Linked DNA regions of Homo sapiens: region 1 is linked to region 2. Evidence: promoter capture Hi-C in human tissues and cell types (Jung and others, 2019). All regions are on one chromosome and are shown on one strand. Each heading gives the region's core, a stretch centred on a gene start or on the middle of the fragment in contact. The rest is flanking DNA. Distances are from core to core; before and after follow the strand shown.

What was found. Contacts are between HindIII fragments. The study calls those that stand out against the background at their distance.
Region 1: a fragment that was not itself captured here is called in contact with the fragment with the promoter of CIB1 in region 2 in 1 of the 25 tissues and cell types used here (pancreas).

The regions. Positions count from the first base shown.
Region 1 is chr15:89,967,026-89,972,402 of GRCh38, forward strand. No RefSeq gene overlaps it. Among named protein-coding and RNA genes, the nearest start is that of ZNF710, 32 kb to the right of the region's middle. The HindIII fragment of the contact is 6,489 bases long and covers 391-5,377 here.
Region 2 is chr15:90,230,997-90,235,912 of GRCh38, forward strand. It overlaps CIB1 (calcium and integrin binding 1), which reads right to left and starts at 2,945. Exons shown (of 7, transcript NM_006384.4): 1 at 2,839-2,945; 2 at 2,673-2,707; 3 at 1,223-1,331; 4 at 361-511; 5 at 99-217; 6 at 1-26. The coding sequence starts at 2,889. GDPGP1 (GDP-D-glucose phosphorylase 1) reads left to right here and starts at 3,213. Exons shown (of 4, transcript NM_001013657.3): 1 at 3,213-3,296; 2 at 3,526-3,600. RefSeq lists silencers at 2,438-2,887, 2,908-3,347. The HindIII fragment of the contact is 18,702 bases long and covers 1-4,916 here.

The DNA of each region.
Region 1 (5,377 bases), core at 2,385-4,884, 260 kb before region 2:
ATCTCTACTGAAAATACAAAAAAATTAGCTAGGTGTGGTGGCGCATGCCTGTAATCCCAGCTACGCTGGAGGCTGAGGCAGGAGAATTGCTTGAACCCAGGATGGGGAGGTTGCAGTGAGCCGAGATCAAGCCACTGCACTCCAGCCTGGGTGACAGAAGGAGACTCCACCTCAAAACAATGGAATGAAACTAGAAATCAAAGGCAGAAGAAAAATTGGAAAAATCCATAAATTGGTGGGAATAAAACAACACACTTTTAAATAACCAAAGGGTCAGATAAGAAATCACAAGGGAAATTAGAAAATATCTTGAGACAAATGAAAACAAAACACAACATACCAAAACTTATGGGATAAGGGAAATTTATAGCTGTAAATGCTTACATTAAAAAAGAAGAGGCTGGGCAAGGTGACTCATGCCTGTAATCCCAGCACTGTGGGAGGCCAAGAGGGATAGATCACCTGAGGTCAGGAGTTTGAGACCAGCCTGGCCAACATGGCGAAACCCCATCGCTACTGAAAATACAAAAATTAGCTGGACATGGTGACGGGAGCCTATAATCCCAGCTACTCAGGAGGCTGAGGCAGGGAGAATTGCTTGAACCCAGGAGAAGGAGGCAGAGGTTGCAGTGAGCCAAGATCTCACCATTGCACTCCAGCCTGGGTGACAGAGCAAGACTCTGTCTCAAAAAAAAAAAAAAAAAGAAAGAAAGAAAAAAAGAAAAAGAAGAAGAAGAAAGCAGCCGGCGTGGTGGCTCATGCCTGTAATCCCAGCACTTTGGGAAGCCAAGGTGGGTGGATCACTTGAAGCCAGGAGTTCGAGACCAGCTTGGCCAACATGGTGAAACTCCATTTCTACTAAAAATACAAGAATTAGTATGGTGGTGCACATCTGTAATCCCAGTTACTCGGGAGGCTGAGGCACAAAAATCGCCTGAACCCAGGAGGGAGAGGCTGCAATGAGCTGAGAGATTGTGCCATTGCACTCCAGGCTGGGCGATGGATCGAGACTGTTGCAACAGAAAAAAAGAAGAAGAAGAAGAAGGTGATGATGATGATGAAGAAAGAAGAGGGAGAGGAAGAGAGAAGAAGGAGGAGGAGGAGGGAGGAGGGGGAGGGGGGAAGGAGAAGGGAAAGGGGAAGGAAGGGGAGGGGGAGGAGAAGGAGGAGAGGAAGAGGAAGAAAGAAGAAGAGGGAAGAAGAAGAGGAGGAGGAGGAGGAGAAGGAGGGGAGGAGGAGGGGAAGGAGGAGGAGGAGAAGGAGAAGGAGGAGGAGAAGGAGAAGGAGGAGGAGAGGTTGGGCGAGGTGGCTCACACCTGTAATCCCAGCACTTTGGTAGGCTGAGGTGGGAGGATTGCTTGAGGCCAGGAGTTCAAGACCAGCCTGGGCAACATAGTGAGACCTCATCTCCACTAAAAAAAAAAAAAAAATATGGGCACAGTGAAGCAGGCCTGTAGTTCCAGCTACTTGGGAGGCTGAGGCAGGAGAATCGCTTGGTCCTGGGAAGCTGAGGTTGCAGTGAGCCATGATTGCACCACTGCACTCAGCCTGGGTGACAGAGTGAGACCCTGTCTTAAAATAAATAAATAAATAATAGAAGAAGAAAGAGCCAGGCATGGTGGTTTATGCCTTTAATTCCAGCACTTTGAGAGGACGAGGCAGAAGAATTACCTGAGCCCAGGAGTTTGAGACCAGAGTCTGGACAACATGGCAAAACCCTGTCTCTGTTTAAAAGAAAGAAAATGAAAGACATGTATGTAAAAAATGTGTCTACATTTTTTAAAAGAAGGAGAAGGATCACAAACCAACAACCTAATTCTACACCTCAAGGAACTACAAAAAGAAGAACAAAGTAAACACAAAGCTAGCAAAAGGAATGAAATAAAGATCAGAACAGAGATCAAGGGAATAGAGAACAGAAAAACAATAGAAAAAAATCAGTTAAACTAAGAGTTGATTTGTTGAAAAGATCAACAAAATTGACAAACACTTAGCTAGATTAACGAAGAAAAAAGAGAGAAGATTCAAGCAACTAAAATCAGAAATGGCTTAGGTGCAATCTCAGCACTTTGGGAGGCTGAGGTGGGAGGATTGCTTGAGCCCAGGAGTTTGAGACCAGTCTGAGCAACATGGCGAGACCCTGTCTCTATCTAATCTAATAGATAGAGTCTCATCTCATCAGGAGGCTGAGGCAGGAGGATCCCTTGAGCCCAGGAGGTTGAGGCTGCAGTGCGCCATGATATCGCCACTGCACTCCAGCCTGAGCAATAGAGTGAGACCCTATCTCAAAAAATAAAACAAAATAAATAAAATAAAATCAGAAATGAAGACAATAAATGGTGCTGGGAAAACTATTTTCATATGCAGAAGAACAAAATCGGATCCTTATCATACACCATACATAACAATCAAATCGAAATGGATGAAAGACCTAAATGTAAAACTTGAAACCATAAATCTCCTAGATAAGAACACAGGGGAAAAGCTCCTTGACATTGGTCTTGGCAATTATTTTTTAATATAATACCAAGAGGTCAAGCTATAAAAGCAAAAATAAATAATGGAACTAGATTAAAGAAAAAACCTTTTGCACAGCAAAGAAGACAAAATGGGAAGCAGTCTATGGACTGAGAAAAATCTTTGCAAACCATGTATCTGATAATGGAATTAGTATTCAAAATATATAAAGAACTGTTACAACTCGGCCTGGCACAGTGGCTCACTCCTGTAATCCCAGCACTTCAGGAGTTTGAGACAAGCCTGGCCAACAGGGTAAAACTAGGTCTCTACAAAAAATACAAAAATTAGCCAGGCATGGTGGCGGGCACCTGTAATCCCAGCTACTCGGAAGGCTGAGGCAGGAGAATCCCTCGAACCCAGCAGGCAGAGGTTGCAGTGAGCCAAGATCGCACCACTGTACTCCAGCCTGGGCGAGAGAGCAAAAACTCCATCTCAAAAAGAAAAAAAAAATGACTGGGCACGGTGGCTCACGCCTGTAATCCCAGCACTTTGGGAGGTCGAGACGAGTGGATCACCTGAGGTCAGGAGTTTGAGACCAGTCTGGCCAATCTTTGTGAAACCCCACCTCTACTAAAAATAGAAAAATTAGCCGGGTGTGGTGGCGGGCTCTTGTAATCCCAGCTACTCGGAGGGCTGAGGCAGGAGAATCATTTGAACCCAGGAGGCGGAGGTTGCAGTGAGCCAAGATTGCGCCACTGCACTCCAGGCTGGGTGACAGAGCGAGACTCTGTCTCAAAACAAAACAAAACAACAACAACAACAACAAACTCTTACAACTCAGTGACAGAAAAGCAAGTAACTCGATTTGCCAAAGCACTTGAACAGACATTTCCTCAAGAAAGACATAAAAATGGCCAACAGGTATATAAAAAGGTGCTTACATCACTAATCATCCAGCAAGTGAAAATCAAAACCTCTATGAGAGGCCGGGCGTGGTGGCTCACACCTGTAATCCCAGCACTTTGGGAGGCCAAGGCAGATGTATCACCTGAGGTCAGGAGTTCGAGACCAGCGTGGCCAACATGGCGAAACCCCGTCTCTACTAAAAATACAAAAATTAGTCAGGCATGATGGTGGGTGCCTGTAATCCCAGCTACTCAGGAGGCTGAGGCAGGAGAATCACTTGAACCCGGGAGGTAAAGGTTGCAGTGAGCCGACACCATGCCATTGCATTCCAGCCTGGGTGACAGGAGAGAAACTCCGTCTGCAAAAAAAAAAAAAAATTGTTTAGATGGTAAATTTTACATTAAAAATGATTACAATGGTAAAAAAGTAATAAAAGCATTGTTACCACTAAAATAATGTTTAACCAAGCAAAAAAAAAAAAAAAAAGACATTAAAAAAAAACCCCAGGTGATTCCGAAGTGCCCCAGGTTTGGAAACACAGTTACATGATGATCCTGGATGACTTCCAAGAAGAAGAGGAGCTTTGAGCTGAGCTGTAAAGGGCAGAAACGTTTTGGCTGGGAGAAGGGAAGGGGGAAGTTACAAAGGAAGGAATGAGTTCAGTAGCAGCAGCGACATCACAAACATTTAACATACTATAAGTGCCTATTATATGCCAGGCGTGTGGTTCACATGTGTTCTCTTGTTTAAGCCACACGACGGTAACTCTAGGAGGTGGGCACTACTGGTGCCATTTTATGGAATAGAAACTGGGTGGCAGTTTGGGGCAGCCAGAGAGGGAGACCAGCCTGCCTATGTAGAGACGATGCAGATTGGAACAGAGAAGGCAAATTACCAAAGGCCTTGACACCAGTCAGAAAAGTCCACCTGATACCATGGACATGGGGTCGTTACAGGTTCTTGAGTAAAAGAGTGGTGCGATTTGAGAGGTGTTTTCAGCAAGTGAATCTAGCAGCAGTGTGCAGGAAAGTTCTGGCTGAACCCATGTGCCCTACACCAGAGTGGAAGCCCAATCCTTGCAAAATGGGCAACAAACAGATGTGCAAGTTGGGAATCAAAGGAAATTCACTCCTGAAGCAGGTGCCCCATTCTCCCTCTCCCCCACCTGACCCCAACACGCCCAGGTCTGTCCTCTGAGTGGCTCACACCCTGAAGAAGCAGGTCTTCTGGTGCCTGCCCTGCTCTGGCTGAGCAAAACCAGGTGGGACAGAGCTGTGTTCTGCAATTTGGAGGCTGGGACTGTAGGGGCATGGTTGACGTGTCTTGTCCCTGTGAGCGCTCTCTGCTGGAGGATCCCGGCCTGGCAGGAGTCTGCAGGCTCTGGGCACTGGGCCCAGACGGCTTTCATTTTTTATTAGTGATGGGGTGTCTTTCAGACTCCTGGAGATATTAATTACAGCCTGTTGTATAACAAGCTATGGTTTCACAGAGGACAGAGCTCACTGTCTCAAAGGCCTCTGGTCCCTGAGTTATTGGACTTCAACAGGAATTTCTAAAAAAAATTGACTTCCCCTTTTTTTTGAGACAGGGTCTCCCTCTGTTGCCCAGGCTGGAGTGCAGTGGCATGATCTGAGCTCACTGCACCCTCTGCCTCCCGGGTTCAAGAAATTCTCATGCCTCAGCCTCCTGAGAGTACCTGGGATTACAGGCATGTGCCATCACACCCAGCTAAATTGTATATTTTTAGTAGAGACGGGGTTTCACCATGTTGGCTAGGCTGGTCTCGAACTCCTGGCATTGAGTGATCCACCCACCTCGGCCTAAAAACGGATTCTCAAGGATGCTGGGTTCCTTCCTTCTTCTGAGGCTCAGCAGAAGCCGTCAGTCCCCAAGCTTCCTCAGGAGGGCCCATGGGGCAGAACCCTGCAGTTCCTGTGGGTTATGCTGGAAGCTGTTTCTTAAGAATGAAGAATTCAGGCAAGTGTGGTGGCTCATGCCTGTAATCCTAACA
Region 2 (4,916 bases), core at 1,695-4,194:
CTGTCAATGTCAGACTCCTCCAGGATCTGGGAAAGGGAGAGTTTCAGGCCAGAGCCCCAACTGCTCCCTCCCGCTCCCAGGCCTGCTCAGCTGCTCACGTTGTCGATGAGCTGCTTCATCTCAGACGCACTAAGCCGTGTGTCCTCGCCCTCTCCCGTGAGGCAGTTCACCAGCCGGCTCAGGTCTTCTCTGTTCAAGGTTCCGTCATCATCAAAGTCTAGAGAGCAGACACAGGAAGCCAAAAGACACGGTTGGGAGGGGCTCTGAGGTTCCCCAAACGGCGCCCATTTCCCAAGCAGGGCCACCACAAAGCCCACGTGGGAAGGGGTGGTGTCCTGCCGGGCTGCTCCTGGTTCTCACCAAAGATGCGGAAGGCATAATGGGACTTGATGTCTGGCGTGGCTGTGTCACTGAACACACTGAGGAGATCCAGGAAGTCCTCAAAGCTAAGGCTGTCTTTGGCTGGGGATGTGGAGAAGACCCTGCAGATTCGCTCCTTGAAGGGGTTGGCCTAGGAGAACAAACGCCACAGGACGTGGCCCAGGTCACACGCTCATTAAAGCCTACCAGAAACTTGAGAGAGCAGGTCACAGGACCAGCACCAGCGAGCTCAGCCTCGTGGGGGTGAACAGTCAGTGCTTTGGGGCCAACATGGAGGGCAGTGGGGGCACAGGAAAGCAAACTGACCCAGCTGGGGAAGGGACTGAGATGGCTTCCTGGGAGTCAAGTGTTTAACCCAAAGGCAGGTCACATACAACGTAAGTGTGGGCAGAGAGGGAAGAAGAAGTCATCCTAAACAAAGGGAACGAGATGGGCTGGTTATTTTAAAACACAAATATTTACTTGAACAGCTATTGTGTTACAGGCACCGGGCCAGGCCCTTTGCACAGAAATTTTGCAGCAGCCTTACGGAGTGGCAATCAGCCTCTAGAACACGGTTCCTCAAACTCTAATGAGGTACCTCAACTCCTCTTAAGGGACAAAACTTCTTTGAACTTCCAAGATTATGTTCTAGAATCCCCATTTGAAAAGCACCATTCTAGATAATTCTGCCAGGTGATTTTGGTAAAGTCCTTGCCCCTAGAAAATCAGAACTAAGCAGAAAAATGACCAGAGTGGGGACCAGTGACCCCATGATCCCAAAGCTAGTGGCAGATGGAGTTAGGGGGTCTAGCAGGGAGGGAGTGGTGGGAGAGGTGTCAAAGGAGGGGAGCGCTTGCACCTTGAGCTCTGGAAGGCTGAGAATCTGCTCGAAGGGCACTTGTGCCCGAAGTGACGACTCCACGCTCCGCTGCTCCTGGGGAAGCAGCTCACAAAACCGCCTGTGGGCTCTGGTAGAGAGAGGGGAACTGTCGGTGTTCTCAGCGATCGGTCTCCCTGTGTGTTCATTCCCACTCCTTGCCTGCTGCTCATTGTCAACCAGGTGAGGAGCTAAAACCACGTACACAGAACTTCCGAGTCATCAGGCAACGGTAAGCAAAAGGACATGTCACAAGGCAGTACAGCCTAGGAGTCTATTCTTGCAATGAGTATTTACTGAGCATTTACTATGTGCTTGGCACTGATTCTAGAGATCCCCAAGGGATGAAGAAGTTGGGAAAGGAGCCAGAAGTTGGCCCTAAAGAATTGGCCAGGCACGGTGGCTCACACCTGTAATCCCAGCACTTTGGGAGGCCAAGGCGGGCGGAGCTTTGGAGGTCAGGCGTCTGAGACCAGTCTGAGCAACATGGTGAACCCCTTCTCTACTAAAAATACAAAAATTAGCCGGGCATGGTGGCGGGTGCCTATAATCCCAGCTACTCAGGAGGCTGAGGCAGGAGAATCACTTGAACCCGGAGGCAGGAGAATCACTTGAACCCGGAGGCAGAGCCTGCAGTGAGCCAAGATCGTGCCCCAGCACTCCAGCCTGGGCGACAGAGCGAGACGCTGTCTCAAAAAAAAAAAAACGGAGAAAAGAGCAAAACCAAAAATCTCATTCTCACCTTCACTCCAGGGATCTCTTACCCTCAAAGCCTCCTTTTTAGCAACCACACTGAACTGTCCTCCTCGGCCTCCACCTCCTTCCCATGAGCTTATCTTTGCCACAGGAACCTGGCCTGCATAAATCCGGCAAAAGGGCTTCCAGCCCAAGTTCAAATCTACTTACTCAGAGTGTTGTCTTAAGCAGTTACCAAACCTTTCTGAACCTGTTTCATTGTCCAGTACCTCTCTCCTAAAGATTAAATTAGGTAACGCAGGCAACCATTTAGCACAGTCCCTGGCACATGGTGAGTGCTCAGAAAGCGATAACGGTTACTGTATTATTCAGGTAAAGTTGGGAGAAGGAGCCGGGCTCCCCAAGGCTTCTGTGGTTTAGCCACTGGGCAAGGTCGGCCCCTGCCGGACTGGGGCAGGAAGTTCGGCAGTGCTGAAGCTAGTGGAGCCCAGGGTCAAAGAGCGCCTAACTTTTCCTGGAGGCTGTAAGGTGGCTCCGCGGTGCCACGCTGGGGCCTCAGGCGAGGGCGGGGAGGGCGTGCCGGGAGGAGGGCGCAGCCCGGGCTAGGTCTCCCGGCCTCCAGCTCCCGCTCCTCTGCAGACCTCAGGCCAGCCCCCGCCCCTCCCTCGGGACAGCGCCCCCGAAGCTGTCTCTAGAGGATCCCGGGGTCGGAGGCAGGGTTCAAGGCAGCACTTACAGGAGGATCTCCTGCTTCGTCAGGAACGTCAAGTCCTGGAAGGCAAAGCCAGAGCGGGGATTAGCGGACCGCTGGGAGGCCGCGGCCGCCCCGCAGCCAGCTCCCGGACCCTGCTCCCGAGAAGAGGCCCGCACGCGAGCTCCCCAGGGCCAGGCGTCCCGCGCACCTGGTACTCGGCCAGCAGCTCCTTGGACAGGCGACTGCCCGAGCCCCCCATCGCCCCGCCGCGCGCACAGCTCCGCCAACTCGCCTCGAGACGCAGACAACTTTCTCACTTCCGCCCTTGGGCCGCGTCACTGCCCGGTCCCCGCGGCAACCGCTCCTGGGGCCACCACCCCCGGGCCCGCCCCCTCCTAAAAGCTGCCAGGCGTTCCCAGCCGGGTTTGGCAGGCGAGCTGCCGGCTCCAAGCGGTCCTAGGCGAGCTGGAGGCGGGGCCCGGGGAGGGGCCCGACGCTCCGGGGCGGAGCCCGGGACTCACGGCCCCGCCTCCGGGGTGGGAGGGGGGGGCGGGCCACGCCGCGCGCGTGCGTGCTGGCTGCGTATGCGTCACGGGCGTCATGACCTCGCTGTGGCCCCGGCAGCGGCTGCGGGGAAAGTCGCGAGGTGCATCCGCTTCGGCTGCAGTAGGTGGTGGCGGCGGCAGCCCTGGGTGGGGTCCCATAGGGGCATCTGAGAAGTCACTGGAGCTAGCGTTTCCGGGAAACCTGGAGACTCGCTGAGTGGCGGGGGTCGTCGGCTGCCCCTCTGCCCAGCAAGGGCTTTTCTAGATGTTATCATCAGGCAATCGCTGCACCTGTCGCAGCCCCCAAGCCACCTCTTCCAGAAGTAACCATAACCTTGCTTCCTTCTTAGGCTATTTACTGAGGACCCACTGGATGTCAAGCATTGTGCATAGTTTTCTTCGATTGTTGCAACATCCCTTGCGAGGTAGGTTCCCATTTTACAAAGATGGAAATACGTAAGTCCAAAGGGTGTTAGTGATTTTTCCGGGCGCCGGCATTTAGAAGGTAATCGGTCCAGTCCAAGGCACTTTTAAAGGCTCTCCACTGCTGTTCTCATCATTCCAGCTGACCTGCCGTCCTTTTGACTCCATCTCACCCCTAGACTGCTGACCCTTTGCTCTTGTCCCCTCTTAACCTCTAGGATAATGTTTGGCACATAGTAGGCTCTCAGTAAATATTATCGAATGCATAATAAATGAATGAACGTATACTATTGCAAAAGGTAAGGATTCCAAACTGCTGGGAGGAGGAAGTGGAGGTTGTGTTGGTCAGGCTGGGATTAATTCTTGATCCTTCCAATCCATTATACTTGCTGATCTTTGTAAAGTCTAAATCTGAGTATGTTAGTCTCAGTTTATAACCATTAAATGGTTAAAAACCCAAATCCTGGCCCTCTGTAACTGGACTTCCTCCTATTGGCTCTCTGTCTTTCAGCCACTTTGGGCCCTCAGTCCCTCTTCCATCTCATCCTCAGGGAAGCCTTTCCTGACTCCCTAGACTGCCTAGGAATCTACTTTACACTGGAAGAATACCCAGTGCTCTCCTTGGCAGCATGTGTTTGATAAGACACACTGTATTAACAGGTACATTCCATCATTGTAGAAATATTCAAGGCCAGGCGCGGTGGCTCATGCCTGTAATCTCAGCACTTTGGGAGGCTGAAGCAGGCGGATCATTTGAGGCCAGGAGTTCAAGACCAGCATGGCCAACATGGCAAAACCCCATCTCTACTAAAAATACAAAAATTAGCCAGACATGGTTAAACCTGGGAGCTGGAGGTTGCAGTGAGCGGAGATTGTGCCACTGCAGTCCAGCCTGGGCAACAGAGTGAGACTCTGTCTCAAAAAATAAAAATAAAAAAAAATAACTAGGGTATAGGCCCATCCCAACCTGATCATTTTTCTCTTTTTTTTTGAGACAGAGTCTCGCTGTGTCGCCTAGGCTGGAGTGCAGTGGCATGATCTTGGCTCACTGCAAGCTCCGCCTCCTGGGTTCACGCCATTCTTCTACCTTAGCCTCCCCAGCAGCTGGGACTACAGGCACCCGCCACCACACCCGGCTAATTTTTTTGTATTTTTGGTAGAGACGGGGTTTCACCCTGTTAGCCAGGATGGTCTGGATCTCCTGACCTCGTGATTCGCCCACCTCGGCCTCTCAAAGTGCTGGGATTACAGGCGTGACCCACCGTGCCCGGCCGATCATTTTTCTCTTAATAGCAGGCTCTTTCTGTCCGAGAAAGAG